Regions from separate parts of the Homo sapiens genome. Here regions 1, 2, 3 and 4 are each linked to region 5. Evidence: promoter capture Hi-C in human tissues and cell types (Jung and others, 2019). All regions are on one chromosome and are shown on one strand. Each heading gives the region's core, a stretch centred on a gene start or on the middle of the fragment in contact. The rest is flanking DNA. Distances are from core to core; before and after follow the strand shown.

Region 1 (2,700 bases), core at 2-2,501, 1.6 Mb after region 5:
GAGACCCTGGGCATATTCTGTTTCTCCTCAAACTTTAACTAACTAGTTTTAAAATCCATTAGTGATTTTCTAACTGTATTATTGACTTTGCCTTTATTATCTAGAAATGTACTGTAGGAAGAAGTAGTCACTTCTATATTTTTATTTACTTATCTATATATATATCAGTTTAGACACAATAATTGTTATTTTATTTAATAGGATAAAATACATTACTATCATTATTTTGATACTTTCTCAAATTCTCTTAATTTTGACTATTGGGAATCCCTTTGAGCTGGTTAATGTGTCCTTTTCAAAAGTCTGTAGGACTTTTTAATAACTTCCAAATTTTTCTAGCACAAGAAAAGATGTTGTAGGTTGCATTGAGCTTCTTCTACTTCTGCTCTGGATTCAGCTATTCATCCAAGGAGCCTTGGTTCCTTTTCTTAGAAGATGGTATTTGAAAATAAATACCTAAGCACCAGCTGTGTGCATGTCTACTATTTCTTTTTTTTTTAAATTTTTTTTATTTTTACTGACTTTTTATTTTTTAATGTTTTTATTTGGAAACAATTTCAGACATATAAAAGTTAGAATAATAGTGCAAATAATTCCTGTATACCCTTCAAATTTTCCAAATTTTAGCATTTTAACACATTTGGCTTATCATTTTCTATCTCTTTGTCTCTGTCTCTGTCTCTCTCTTTCATTACATATAATATACACACAAATATACAAATACACACATTATAAACACATACAGTTTTGTAACTATATGTATATATTGCTTTATAATTGCTTTTCTGAAATATTTGAGAGTAAATTTCAGATATGGTGGCCCTTTATTTCTTTTTTTTTCTTCTCATTACCTCTCAAGCCTGTCAGTCAATGGAGCTAGAACATGCATTTCATATATGCACATACATGTATCACATATTCATTCATGTAAATCTCTGAATTTAAGACATGAACTTAGTGATAATTCTAATTCCAATTAAGTGCCATAAAGTACATTTTAGTATACAAGTTGCTTCCTCATATACTCAAGTTCCAAATGCACAGAAATTTGCTTTATAATTGCTAAAGCATATACTTACTGAAAGAAAATTCTAGCTATTATGACTATATTTTCCTTTTCATCATTGATCCTTTTTATATAAGCTGCATTAAAGGGCTTCTCTGCTGAATGAAATGTCTGTGTAGTATTGGTGTTGGTATCTAGTAATTTATTTGCCCTCTATGTTATATTTTACTTTTTCTATGTGTGTTTAGCATATTTCTTAACTTTGTATCATATAATATGACTAATACATAACGGAAATTGCATTCACTTTTGCTTTTCTGAAGGCTAGAATTTTGTAATGGAAAGGATTTAACATAGCTGGACTCAAACTATAAAGCAAACCTGTCTCTGAGCAGGAGCTGAAAACATTGTTCATTTCGTTATGCCTCTGGGAGATGCTTTTTATGTGCTCCCTGGATTCTTCACCACACAAGCTTAATTAGTTCAGTAGTCATCCAGGTTTCAGGCTGAATATAAACCTGAAATTTATATTCAGATTTCAGTTCTCAGTCTAAGTTTCCAGTCAACTAACTGACATTAGACCCGTATTTTAATAATGTCCTGGGATTATTCAAGCTAAGAATCTTCAACCTTGGATGTGCTTTCATAAATTATTAAACAAAGCCACATCTACAGAATATCTGGTGCTGCAGTTCCCATTCTTAAAGCTCAGTTATATAGTCCTTTCCTTTCTGGTTACATTCCGGTGTCTTCAAAGTGTGAGCATGTGTGTTTCAGATTACAGTTCTACCTTACTACAATGCCTTCCAGCCAAAGACCACCAAGAAGGCAGCCGTAGTTGAGCAAGTTGGGTTTTTTTACATGTTGAGTGGTGAGAAATCGCATCATGAGAAATTGTGGAGTATGCCAGTTCTAGAGATTTGGACTTGGGTTAGGTGATTTTAGGAAGGTTTCAGGAAATAGACCTTTGCTGTAAATTAGATGTTTTAAAGTAGAGATATTAATAATTGTATGATTGTATATCTTAATCTTATATATGAAGAGGGAAGACTAAAGTGAAGCTAAAGTTGTAATTGCTAAAGAAGCAATAGTCACACATATTAGTTGAATCCTGGGAATGTCCAGTAACTGTGGCTTGGACAATGTTTGTTTCTCCTCTGTGTTCATACATGATCTATGAAGTGAGCTTGCTTATTTTCTTAATCTTTCATGATCACAGAATGGCTTTGCCTAAGGTTGATGTTCTATGAAATTACTTAATGTTTAACTGGTGTGTGCACTATGAGTGCAGAACAGCTTTTATCAACTCCAAGTCCTTCCTCGATGACTCCTGGCCACTTCAGGGGCTGGGTTGCCCATTTTCGTTGTCTTCTTTTGGCCAAAGGGAGAAAAGTTCAGGCCATAGAAAATTGCTTGAAGACATTTAGATTTTCATCACTGCTGAGATTTTGCTGATTAGGAGGCTATTTAGATAACATATGTTGTCTATCTCAACATATGCAGTTGATCTAGGGTTAGTCTCTCTGCCTCCATGGTTTCCTGAATCTTCTGATGTAGCAATGGTCATGTGGTAGCATTTAAGATTCCAAACAGGATGCAAGGGCCAAATAAAAATCTTATGGTTTGTAGCATGTACTGTAGGCAAATGCTCACATTAATCTGTAGGACATACTACCTATGTGATATATATAGTG
Region 2 (2,700 bases), core at 188-2,687, 1.2 Mb after region 5:
TTGTGGATTTAGCTCGTACACTGTTAGGAGACAGGTGGGCTTTGGAGAATTTGGAGCAGAGAAATGGCATGGTTTTCCTTATAATTTTAAAAGCTTACTGACACTTCTTAGAAGAGAATAGATTTCAGGGAAGCAAGCAGGGAGTGGGGAGCAGGAAGACTAGTCAGGAGATGTTCAATAATCCAAGAAAGAGAGGATGAAGGCTTCCACTAGGGAGAATGTGGAGGTAGTGAGAACTGATCCAATTCTGGCATATTGTGAAGGTAAAGCTAAGACGATTGCTGAAAAATTAGATGCGAGGAATGAATAACAAACAGGAGCCCAGGCTGATCTCTTCTGAAGGATGCCTCCTTGAAAGACATTTCCAGGTGTGCCAGTGGTCAACTCTCCAACCATGCAGCTCATGTGTGTTCCAGTTTTTCCAAGGGTTCCAGAAGAGCCCTTTGTTCTGCTGTCTATGTCTATGGATTTACAGGCCTATATAGCACACCTTTGTGGCAGCATCGTTTCCCTTGCTAAATTTAAAAAAAAATTATTATTATGGCAACAAGGATTTACTGAGCTTTTATTATGTGCCAAGCAGAGGACAAGAGATTCACAAAACCTCTCTTAATTATTGTCATAACTCAAGGATTTATCAAAGTTCTTTTTTTTTTTTTTTTTTTTTTTTTTTTTGAGACGGAGTTTTGCTCTTGTTGCCCAGGCTGGAGTGCAATGGCGTGATCTCTGCTCACCACAACCTCCGCCTCCTGGTTCAAGTGACTCTCCTGCCTCAACCTCCCGTGTAGCTGGGATTACAGGCATGAACCACCATGCCAAGCTAATTTTGTATTTTTTTTTTAGTAGAGATGGGGTTTCTCCATGTTGGGCAGGCTGGTCTCGAACTCCTGACCTCAGGTGATCCACTCGCCTCGGCCTCCCAAAGTGCTGGGATTACAGGCGTGAGCCACTGTGCCTGGCCTCAACCTTCTTATACTATGTTCTTTCTTGAAGTGATTCTTATGTGGGCTCATGCTTTTTCTGATACCCTACTTATTGATTACTCCTAAATTTTGATCCCTACCTAGCCCTGGCCTCTGAAGTGTTAAACTCATTTATTCATCTAACTAATCAATACAAATATATAAAAATATGTTATACATATTCATTCTGTTATAAAATAAACCTGGCTATGATCCTTAATAACTCCTTTTCTTTCTCTCCCTACACATAATCTATGGCCAAGTTCTGTCAGTTCTATCTAGAAAATGTTCCCAAAGCCATCTACTTTCTCTCTATTTTCATTGCCATTTATGCCAGCCCTTCATATGGTGGATGCTGTGATGCATGATCCAGAATTCCCTTTAAGATTTTCCCAGGTGCTTAGCTATCAGCCCGCTTCAGGGACTGATACTACTGAAGAAGTTTATGTCACCTAAGGGTACCCTTTTTCCCTTCCAGGTGCAGCTATATCCAGTGACTGATCCACATGGTGGTGTAAAATCCTGCTCTCCTTGTCCGTATCAACTCTAAGGGGTCATCTAAACTTCAGAGCACCTTTCAGGGTAGGCTGAGATCTCCCTCTGTCCAATCCTGCATCTTTCCCATCTGCAGGCATTGATCCCAACAGCACTCTACAACCAGTCACCTGACTGCTGATCTGCATCTCAGAGTTTGCTTCCTAGGGACCCCAGCCTAAAATACTGTATCATCTCTTGCTAGACTAAGATCAAGTAACTCACTTTCCTGGCTCTCCTGATTTGCCTCTTGCCCCAAATTCCCTACACAACACCCAGAGCCATATTTCCTAGTAAGCACTCTGATTGAACCACTCTTGAAGTAAACTTTGCATGACCTCTTTGAACATGACCTGCTATGTCTTTATGCCTTCAGATTCCTTGGATACACCACATTCATTCCTGTAGTGAGGATTTGCACATCTTTTTCCTTTTTCTGGAATGTTCTTTTATACTTTTTGTCTCGGGTAGGTAATTCCTGGTTATTCATACAATCTCAACTAAAAGCTACTTTCTCAGAGAGGCTTTCCTAATTCTTGCCAACATACCCATTACTCTTCCTTAGCACTTTGTATTAGAGTTTGCAAACATATCTTTATTTGGGGGATTCTCATTTAAAGGCCCTATCAAGAGCAGGGATTGGATCTACCTTTCTCACTATGTTCAAAGTTCCAAGGTCACTTAATAAAAGGATTGTTTTTATAGTAATGTTAAATGACAGCATATGCAATTATATTTAATTCTCATAACGACCCTTTGCAATAGGAACTATTGCAGATCTTAAATCAAAGATAAGAGAACTGAGGCAATAAATGGAATGATGTAATAAATGGAATGATGGCTCCATAAGAGGTCCATGTTTTAATCCCTGAAATTTATGAATATAAGCAAAAGGGAACTTTAAATAGCAAAAGAGCTTTTGCAGGTATGAACAAGTTAAACATCTTCAGATGTGGAGATTTAGCTTGGATTATCCGGGGCAGCCCATGTAATCATGAGTTCTTATAAGAAGGAGTCAGAAGGTCAGAAAGGAGAGAAGATGCTGGGTTATTGTCTTTGAAGATGGAGGAAGGAGCCGTGCTCCAAGGAATGTGGACAACAGTTAGAAACTGGAACAGGCAAGGAAACAGATTCTTGCCTAGATCCTCCAGAAAGAACAGATTCCTGCAGACCCATTTTAGACATCTGGCATTCTAAACTATGA
Region 3 (2,700 bases), core at 45-2,544, 1.1 Mb after region 5:
CTCCATGGGTCTCTGCCAGTTCCGTTGCAAATAAAATGAACAAAGGAAATCTGGGATACAAAAAGTTTTCTAAGATATGTGTTAATGATAGTATCTAGAAGAAATAAGACCAGATCTAAAATCTGCACTCTAAAGGCTCTGGAGAAATAGCAGTGATTAAACATCCATTAATGAGGGCTGTTACTACCTGGTGCTCATGACCCTTGGTCCGCTGATAATTCGCCATAAAGAGATTAAAATGTAATAGTGCTTTTCTGAGGAGGCTGCAGTAACCATCTTTAACAGCACCCGTGGCAGTGTTATTGTGATTTGCAGTTTCCCTGGTGACCGCCCTTCCGGATGTCCTTCCGAAGAACAGTCAACTTCTGCCCTTCCTCCAAACCAAACTGACTCAGACGATCTGTCCTCATTGAATTAAGTGGCATCCAGGCTTTAGGCATCCTGTTCTTATCTCATTTGTGTCCTCTAAACCAGCCTATGTGCAACCCCCACTGATACTTAGAGAATGATCACAGCACACATAGCCTTGGTTGCAGGCAGGTCCTGGCTTACTTGATCAATGTCTCCAGAAATTGTATACACACTACAGTCTGGTGAGTTAAATCACATCTTAAATAAGCTAGAAGAACTCATTTTTTAAAAAACGTCCACAGAAAATCTTCCCCCACCAAGTCCTTAATTTACCTGAATTATAGCTCTGAGTTGTTACAAACAATATCAAATCTATTTAAAAATCAGCTTAACTGCAAATATCCAATACAATTAATAGTTTAGGGGAAACAGAAAGGTATGGCACGTTGAAGAAATTGACAGTTTTGAGTTTTGAATCCAGCTTTTGGTTTTGCCCTTATTAAGGTTTATAGCCCAGTGCCTGACACTGGTTCTTGATTATATAGTTTATTGCACAACTGGTAATGGATAAATAAAATAAATTCAAAAAGAAATAAATGAAATTGATCATGTGGAGATAGATTCCTAAACAGCTTTCAAAACCGAAATGCCATCTTTATGTAATTTTATTCAAAGTAATAATAACTGTGTTATTTATTACTAAAGAATTTAATTTGCTTTTGAAAATATTTTATTTCACTTAACTGTGATGGTTGTAAAAAGTTGCAGAATTTGCAGAAATATTTCATTATATTTGGCATTTATCATTTGTTTATCACTTTTGCCAACAACGTAAGGAGGTGATGAATTCAAATTTGAAAATAAACATTGAATGTGTTCAGTCTGAATTGTTTGCTTAGCATGAATTACACTTAAAGGACTATTCAGTTTTATGTGAGGTAATGGAAATACCATTCTGTGTCAATGGAAATATTAAGAAGAGGTTGGTTAGAGAAATTTCTGCATTTTGAAGAGATGGTTCCAGACCAATGGCTTGAATCCTTTGTTAGACTTTGGAATGACAAATGAAGTTGAGTAAATAACAAAAACAGAAAAAGAAAACAAAATAAAAACAAAAAAACTGGTGTCTAACCTCCACACCTGATTCTCTTGTTTGTATTTGGGTCTGGGTATAAATATTATTTGAAAGCTCCCTAATACGCAACCACAGTTGAAAACCGTTCCTCTGGAAGATTTCATTATTTCCTTCCAGCACTAAGATTTTGCCCTTCCTAGAAAGTGTTGTACTTTATTGTAGCTTAAGGAACAGGAAAAAAAGAGTGTATATTTTAATTTTGCAAGTAAAAATATTAATTGGGATTGAATGAATCTTCTGATGCAGATAACGTAAAATCACTTTTAATGAAAAAAATTAAATATTTATACAAATATCTGCTATGTTCCATGGGTGGTATACGTAGTTTACATATATGAACTAATTGAACTCTTGGAGTATAGCCTATTAACTAATATTAGAATAATTATATGAAGATGGTAGCACCAGCATCATCATCATTATCCCTATTACAGGTAAACTGATAGGGTTGTTAAGGAGTATGTTTATCTATCAATAAGTGGAAAAACTGAAACCAGGCAGTTGGCTTTAGGGGATACATAGTTACCCCAAACACTCTACTGCCTGTCACAGTTCTACAAACAGGACCCGCCACAATGTGTACACCCAAATCCTTCATCCAGCCTAGTGCCCTTTTTTAGGACATTATAGGACACTTGGGAAAAACTTGATTTATTTTCAATGAATAAGTGCAGAATTCAGCCCTGTCTAAAAGAATGAGCTATAGTCTCCAGTATCATCTTGACATTCCATTAGAAACACCTTGAAGACAGATGGAAATTCATCCCTGTTGTGAAACCCTCCAGAAAATGATATGACACAATATCCCTGAGGTCATACATTTTAATACCTAACCTCTTCTTCCCCCAAGTTTCTTCTTATATCCAATCCAAATGTCTCATATTCTAGTTTTAACTCTTTTATTTTATTATCTTCTCCTTTGTCTAGAGAGGAGCTTGAAAAAAAAAAATCTGACTTGGAACAGTTTCATTTTCCTTAGCCAGCAGCTGGGATATAGGTGGAGCTTTGTGCTCTGTTCCTACCAGATGGCCGAAACTGCTGCCCCAGTGGCGGACAACCATGAATGGGTGCCAGCATTGCTCAGGAGCTTTGAAAAGTGACCCATGGCCAAGCCCCACCCTAGGCCAATTCCATGCTGTGGTCATCTGTCCATGTCAAAAATCTACTACTTCCTAACTGTTAATATCTCTTCACGCAATGTCTTTTATGCATTG
Region 4 (2,700 bases), core at 147-2,646, 1.1 Mb after region 5:
GAACAAAAATATGAAACATTAAGAAAATCCAGCAAAGTAGGACTAAGCAAGTAAAGCTGCATTCCTCCTAAAGGCTTTGTTATCCTAGAAGCTGAGCAAGGGAGAGTTTGCTGCTAGGTGGTCCAGCAGGAAAGGAGAACTAGCATTCACGAGAACACTATGTGTCAGCAATGACTGTACCTGATTCTCAAAAGGGAGTTTGAAAAACATCATATTCGGAAATGTCTTCCAATGCTAGGTGGCTACTTCTCTTTATACCTTTGAAAAGTGCAGGTCTTGTCTCACTGTTACTGAGGCTTTAGTAATTCTCAGAAGGTTGGTGCCATTGTCACGCCCAATGCATCAGAAAAATATTTGACTGGAGAAACCAAATTCTCAGGCTTATTAAGGATGCCACAAAGTCCCTTAATGATTCACAGGGACGTTCTCAGTCCCAAGCCCAGAGAATTGCTAAGTTCTTTACATCTCATTTTTCAAACCAAAGATAGGCTGTGTGGCAGATCAAAGATGTCACCACATTCTTCGACATTCTTCCTTTCTAGAAGTAGTGTCTATTTCATCTTCCCTTTACCCTGGGCTTTCCTGTGACTGCTTTAACCAATAGAGTCAATGGAAATTATGCTATTCCAATTCTGAGGCTGATTTAAATTGATGATCACTTTCTGCCTTGCCCTCTAGGGAAGCCCTGAGCCATGAAATAAGAGGTCTGACTATGCTGCAGAAGAGATCATAAGGAGAGATCCTGAGACTTCAGGGAGAGGAAGACAGAGTGATCCAGGGCAGCCTATCATTCCACTCACCTGACACAGGCAGCAAGCATGTGAATAATGCCACTGTGGCCCGGATCAGATGGGTAGCAGACTGGCCACCAGCAAAACAGCACTGAGTTAGTTATCCCATGTGGTGCAGAAGTATAGCTCATTTGAGCCCTGGCTGAATTTCTGACCCACAAAATTGTGACATTAATAAAATGGTTGTTATTTTATGTCACTATCTTTGGGGATAGTTTGTTACACACCACTAGTTAAATGGAACCATCTGGGTGGAAGTTGAAGACTGGTGATCCAATCAATCACCAAAGTGTTCATGAAACTCATCTTTTACTATCCCTCTGCCTATATTTTTATCACTGAGAGATTCTTCATAAGGGTGAATATATCAGATCTAGAGGTTATAGGTTTTAGACTCTTATCCCTGGAGAAGGCATAGACTTGTAGCCTTGTATGCAGTTTTATGCCCTGAGATTCTAGTTCAGCAACAAGTTATAAATGTGCTATACCTTGTATATCTGCTGAAAATTTAAAACATAGCAATGATTAATTAAATGAAATGCCAAAGCAAATTGTATGAGAAAGGATCAATTTCTGTAATGGCAGTAAGAACCATGGCAAACTTGCTCTCCCTCTAAAACAACAAAAATACAGTCATTTTTTGGTCAACAACAAACTGCACATAGGAGAGTGGTCTTATAAGATTCTAATACCATGATTTTATTGTTTCTTTTTACATTTAGATGTGTTTAGATACACAAACGCTTACCATTGTGTTACAATTGCCTACAGTATTCAGTACAGTAACATGCTGTACAGCATTGCAGCTTAGGAGCAATAGACTATACCATATAGCCTAGGTGTGTAGTAGGCTATACCATCTAGGTTAGTATAAGTGCACTCTATATTCTCACAATGACAAAATTGCCTAACTACATATTTATCAGAATATATTCCTGTCATTCAGCAATGCATAACTGTACAGGCAAAAATATTGAAGTCAATCAACTCAAAACTCGACAGTTGACCAAAGCATATAGCAACCTGAAAACTATGTATCCAAGCAAAAGTATTAAATTTGGGTTACATGGAAGGAATTCTGTGAAGTTTTAACTTGGAGATATTCACATGTTCTTCCTGTTCCAGCTCAGTGGCATGGTAGACAAAAGCCAGCAATGATGAAGGCAAGAGAGAGCTGACCACTTTTAGATCTTTTGTAAAGGTACCACTTCCAGAACACAGTCAATATTTTGTCCATGTTTGCAGCTTCCTGGGAAATCTTTATTCTCTGAGCATAATGGTGATGTGATTTGACTCAGCTCAGCTCCTTCCCAGCAGCATCTCAGCTGCTTAGATGAAAGGCTGTGATTTCAGTTGAGGCAAACAACAAGCTGGCTGGGAATTTAAAAGAAAATCCAGGAAAACTAGACAACCATGGGAAACTCTGAAAAGCTTCCACATATTTCTGGGTGTTTAAAAAGTAGTGGGAAAATCCAGAAAAAAAAAAACTGGGAAAGGAGAAGGCACCAGTCATTCACCTCTGGCTGACTTTGAGGCCATGTACAAGCAGGAAGTGAGAGCGAAGGCTGTTTCATAAATTGCCTGTAGTGTGATGGCTTGCCTTCTCATACAGATTCCTCTTGCAAAGGGTAGAGATAAAAAGGCAGGGCATTTTTTTAAAAAATCTGATCTATTATTGGCTGACCACATATTGATTTCAGTGTGACCCCTAGGAAGCCAAACTTAAAAATAAAAACAAGAACTTAAGAAAAAAAAAATGACTAGAGAACTCAACTCAAAAGCCATACACTGCTGAGAATACAAAATCTACAGAATTAGTCCAGGGAAGTCACTAAATGAATAAACAGAAACAAGAAAAACAATAGCAAAAACAACAAATCAGCTACAACAAACCTATGGGAACAGGAGA
Region 5 (2,700 bases), core at 132-2,631:
GAACTTCATGAACTATTTGCTGTGGTCTTCTGTCCCGGGATAGTCCGGGTCTCACTCCCAGCTCTCCAGAGCTTAACCCTCCCTCTCAGGGGAATGTTTGAAACCTACGAAGAATTCTCAGGAATTCGAGGTAGAAGGTGGCAGAGAGACTTCTGTTCCTGGGGGCCGAGCTGTTGTGCTGATACCGTCCTCTTGGCGTCTGCCCTAGTGGGGACCCTTGATTTTAACTTGAAGTTCCTGGACTGGGTCTAACCTTAGCATGTGTGCCTGAGTGATGGACTTGGTATTTACACCAGCCACGCTGATAAGTGCACATGTGTTTTTAATGTTTTGGCTTTCCACACCACAAACACACAGATGTGCTGTCGCCCGGGCTAGGACTTGAGTAGGGTTTTTCTATTTAAATATATATTATATATTTAAAAAAGTGTCCTCCCAGAGCTAATACCGTTGCTAGCAGCTCTTCCTGCCGCCACACCGGGCAAAGTCCACCCACTGCCCCAGTGTTGAGGGCCACCATGGGCGGCCCCACCTGGAGAGGTGCTGCTCACAGCAAACAGCTCCAACTGCGCCTTCGCCTCGCCTTCCAGGGAGCCCAGCCAGGCCCACTGGGTATTTACAAGCAGACCTCCCTCGCTTCAGCCTTCCTGAACCCCTGTTAGTTGGGAAACCACCTGTCTGCACCGCAGCTAGAGAACCGAGGAGAGGAGCCGCTAGTCTAAAGGGCTGTTGGTTGAAATTAGGAAGCAGTGTAAAGAAAAAGAAAAAAAAAGTTTGGGAGGCCAAGGCAGGAGCATCACCTGAGGTCAGGAGTTCGAGACCAGCCTGGCTAACATGGTGAAACCCCGTCTCTACTAAAAATACAAAAAATTAGCGGGGGCATGGTGGCACGCGGCTGTAATCCCAGCTACTCGGGAGGCTGAGGCAGGAGAATCGCTTGAACCCGGGAGGCGGAGGTTGCAGTCAGCGGAGATAGCGCCATTGCACTCCAGCTTAGGCAACAAGAGCGAAACTGTCTCAAAAAAAAAAAGTCTTCATAATTTCATGGGTTTGCAAGTATGATCCAGGCTCCCCGCTTCTCTGCAAGCCAATGCGAGTTAATTACAGCGTCCGCCCTGGTCTCTCTCCACCCCACGCCGTGATCCATTCCCCTTCTTTTTCTCCCCTTGTCTCTTTCCTCCTCCCCCTTTTATTTATGTATTTTTGGTTTTGTTTTTTAAGGGGTGTTGAGCCGCGTCTGGTTCTAGTAAACCGAACCCGCTCGCGAGGGAGGCGATTGGCTCCCGCGCCGGTGACGGACGTGGTAACGAGTGCGGCTCGCCCCGCCGGGAGCTGATTGGCTGCGCGGGGCGGCTCCGAGGGCTCGGCCGTAGGAGCCCCGCGCACTCCAGCCCTGCAGCCTCCGGAGTCAGTGCCGCGCGCCCGCCGCCCCGCGCCTTCCTGCTCGCCGCACCTCCGGGAGCCGGGGCGCACCCAGCCCGCAGCGCCGCCTCCCCGCCCGCGCCGCCTCCGACCGCAGGCCGAGGGCCGCCACTGGCCGGGGGGACCGGGCAGCAGCTTGCGGCCGCGGAGCCGGGCAACGCTGGGGACTGCGCCTTTTGTCCCCGGAGGTCCCTGGAAGTTTGCGGCAGGACGCGCGCGGGGAGGCGGCGGAGGCAGCCCCGACGTCGCGGAGAACAGGGCGCAGAGCCGGCATGGGCATCGGGCGCAGCGAGGGGGGCCGCCGCGGGGCAGCCCTGGGCGTGCTGCTGGCGCTGGGCGCGGCGCTTCTGGCCGTGGGCTCGGCCAGCGAGTACGACTACGTGAGCTTCCAGTCGGACATCGGCCCGTACCAGAGCGGGCGCTTCTACACCAAGCCACCTCAGTGCGTGGACATCCCCGCGGACCTGCGGCTGTGCCACAACGTGGGCTACAAGAAGATGGTGCTGCCCAACCTGCTGGAGCACGAGACCATGGCGGAGGTGAAGCAGCAGGCCAGCAGCTGGGTGCCCCTGCTCAACAAGAACTGCCACGCCGGCACCCAGGTCTTCCTCTGCTCGCTCTTCGCGCCCGTCTGCCTGGACCGGCCCATCTACCCGTGTCGCTGGCTCTGCGAGGCCGTGCGCGACTCGTGCGAGCCGGTCATGCAGTTCTTCGGCTTCTACTGGCCCGAGATGCTTAAGTGTGACAAGTTCCCCGAGGGGGACGTCTGCATCGCCATGACGCCGCCCAATGCCACCGAAGCCTCCAAGCCCCAAGGTAAGGCTGCCTCCTCCCACGTGCGCGAGCCGCCCCCTCCATCCCCCGGCCGGAGCTGCAGGAGAACCCGCGCCACCCTACGCCCGCCCGCCGCTGGGTCCCGGTGCTGGGGACTGAGGGCCCGAGGTTGCTCGCATGCTGTGCACGTGATTCCTAAGCGCGTCTGGTCTGTCCCAGGTATCGCTCAGCGCCCCTCGCGACCCAGGTGCACGGCGGGGCTGGCCCGGGAGCGGCAGCTCTGCGCCTTGGCCTCGCAGGGACTCGCTGTGGTCCCCGGAGCCGCTCTTCCTGGGATCCAACTTCGCCTTTCCCATACCTGAAACAAAGCCTTGCGCTTTAAATAACAGGGGAGCTTCCCTCTCCTCTAGGAGGACTCCGAGTCCCTATCGAAGTTTTTAACCTCTGAGACGGGAGGAAAAAACAAAAACCCAAAGCGTAGAAAGTTCAGAAAGGCCGAGAGAA

What was found. The method cuts DNA at HindIII sites, captures the fragments that hold promoters and counts their contacts. A contact is called where the count stands out against the background at its distance.
Region 1: a contact is called between a fragment that was not itself captured here and the fragment with the promoter of SFRP1 in region 5, in 1 of the 25 tissues and cell types used here (liver).
Region 2: a fragment that was not itself captured here is called in contact with the fragment with the promoter of SFRP1 in region 5 in 1 of the 25 tissues and cell types used here (dorsolateral prefrontal cortex).
Region 3: a contact is called between a fragment that was not itself captured here and the fragment with the promoter of SFRP1 in region 5, in 1 of the 25 tissues and cell types used here (pancreas).
Region 4: a fragment that was not itself captured here is called in contact with the fragment with the promoter of SFRP1 in region 5 in 1 of the 25 tissues and cell types used here (pancreas).

Annotation. Positions count from the first base shown.
Region 1 is chr8:39,756,375-39,759,074 of GRCh38, reverse strand. The region is part of intron 15 of ADAM2 (ADAM metallopeptidase domain 2); the gene reads left to right. Among named protein-coding and RNA genes, the nearest start is that of ADAM2, 81 kb to the left of the region's middle. The HindIII fragment of the contact is 4,052 bases long and covers 1-2,700 here.
Region 2 is chr8:40,149,110-40,151,809 of GRCh38, reverse strand. The region is part of intron 3 of LINC02866 (long intergenic non-protein coding RNA 2866); the gene reads right to left. Among named protein-coding and RNA genes, the nearest start is that of TCIM, 3.0 kb to the left of the region's middle. The HindIII fragment of the contact is 4,092 bases long and covers 1-2,700 here.
Region 3 is chr8:40,208,582-40,211,281 of GRCh38, reverse strand. No RefSeq gene overlaps it. Among named protein-coding and RNA genes, the nearest start is that of TCIM, 56 kb to the right of the region's middle. The HindIII fragment of the contact is 4,749 bases long and covers 1-2,700 here.
Region 4 is chr8:40,225,844-40,228,543 of GRCh38, reverse strand. No RefSeq gene overlaps it. Among named protein-coding and RNA genes, the nearest start is that of TCIM, 74 kb to the right of the region's middle. The HindIII fragment of the contact is 3,048 bases long and covers 1-2,700 here.
Region 5 is chr8:41,308,154-41,310,853 of GRCh38, reverse strand. SFRP1 (secreted frizzled related protein 1) reads left to right here and starts at 1,381. Exons shown (of 3, transcript NM_003012.5): 1 at 1,381-2,238. The coding sequence starts at 1,695. RefSeq lists enhancers at 1,661-2,431, 2,432-2,700. The HindIII fragment of the contact is 13,871 bases long and covers 1-2,700 here.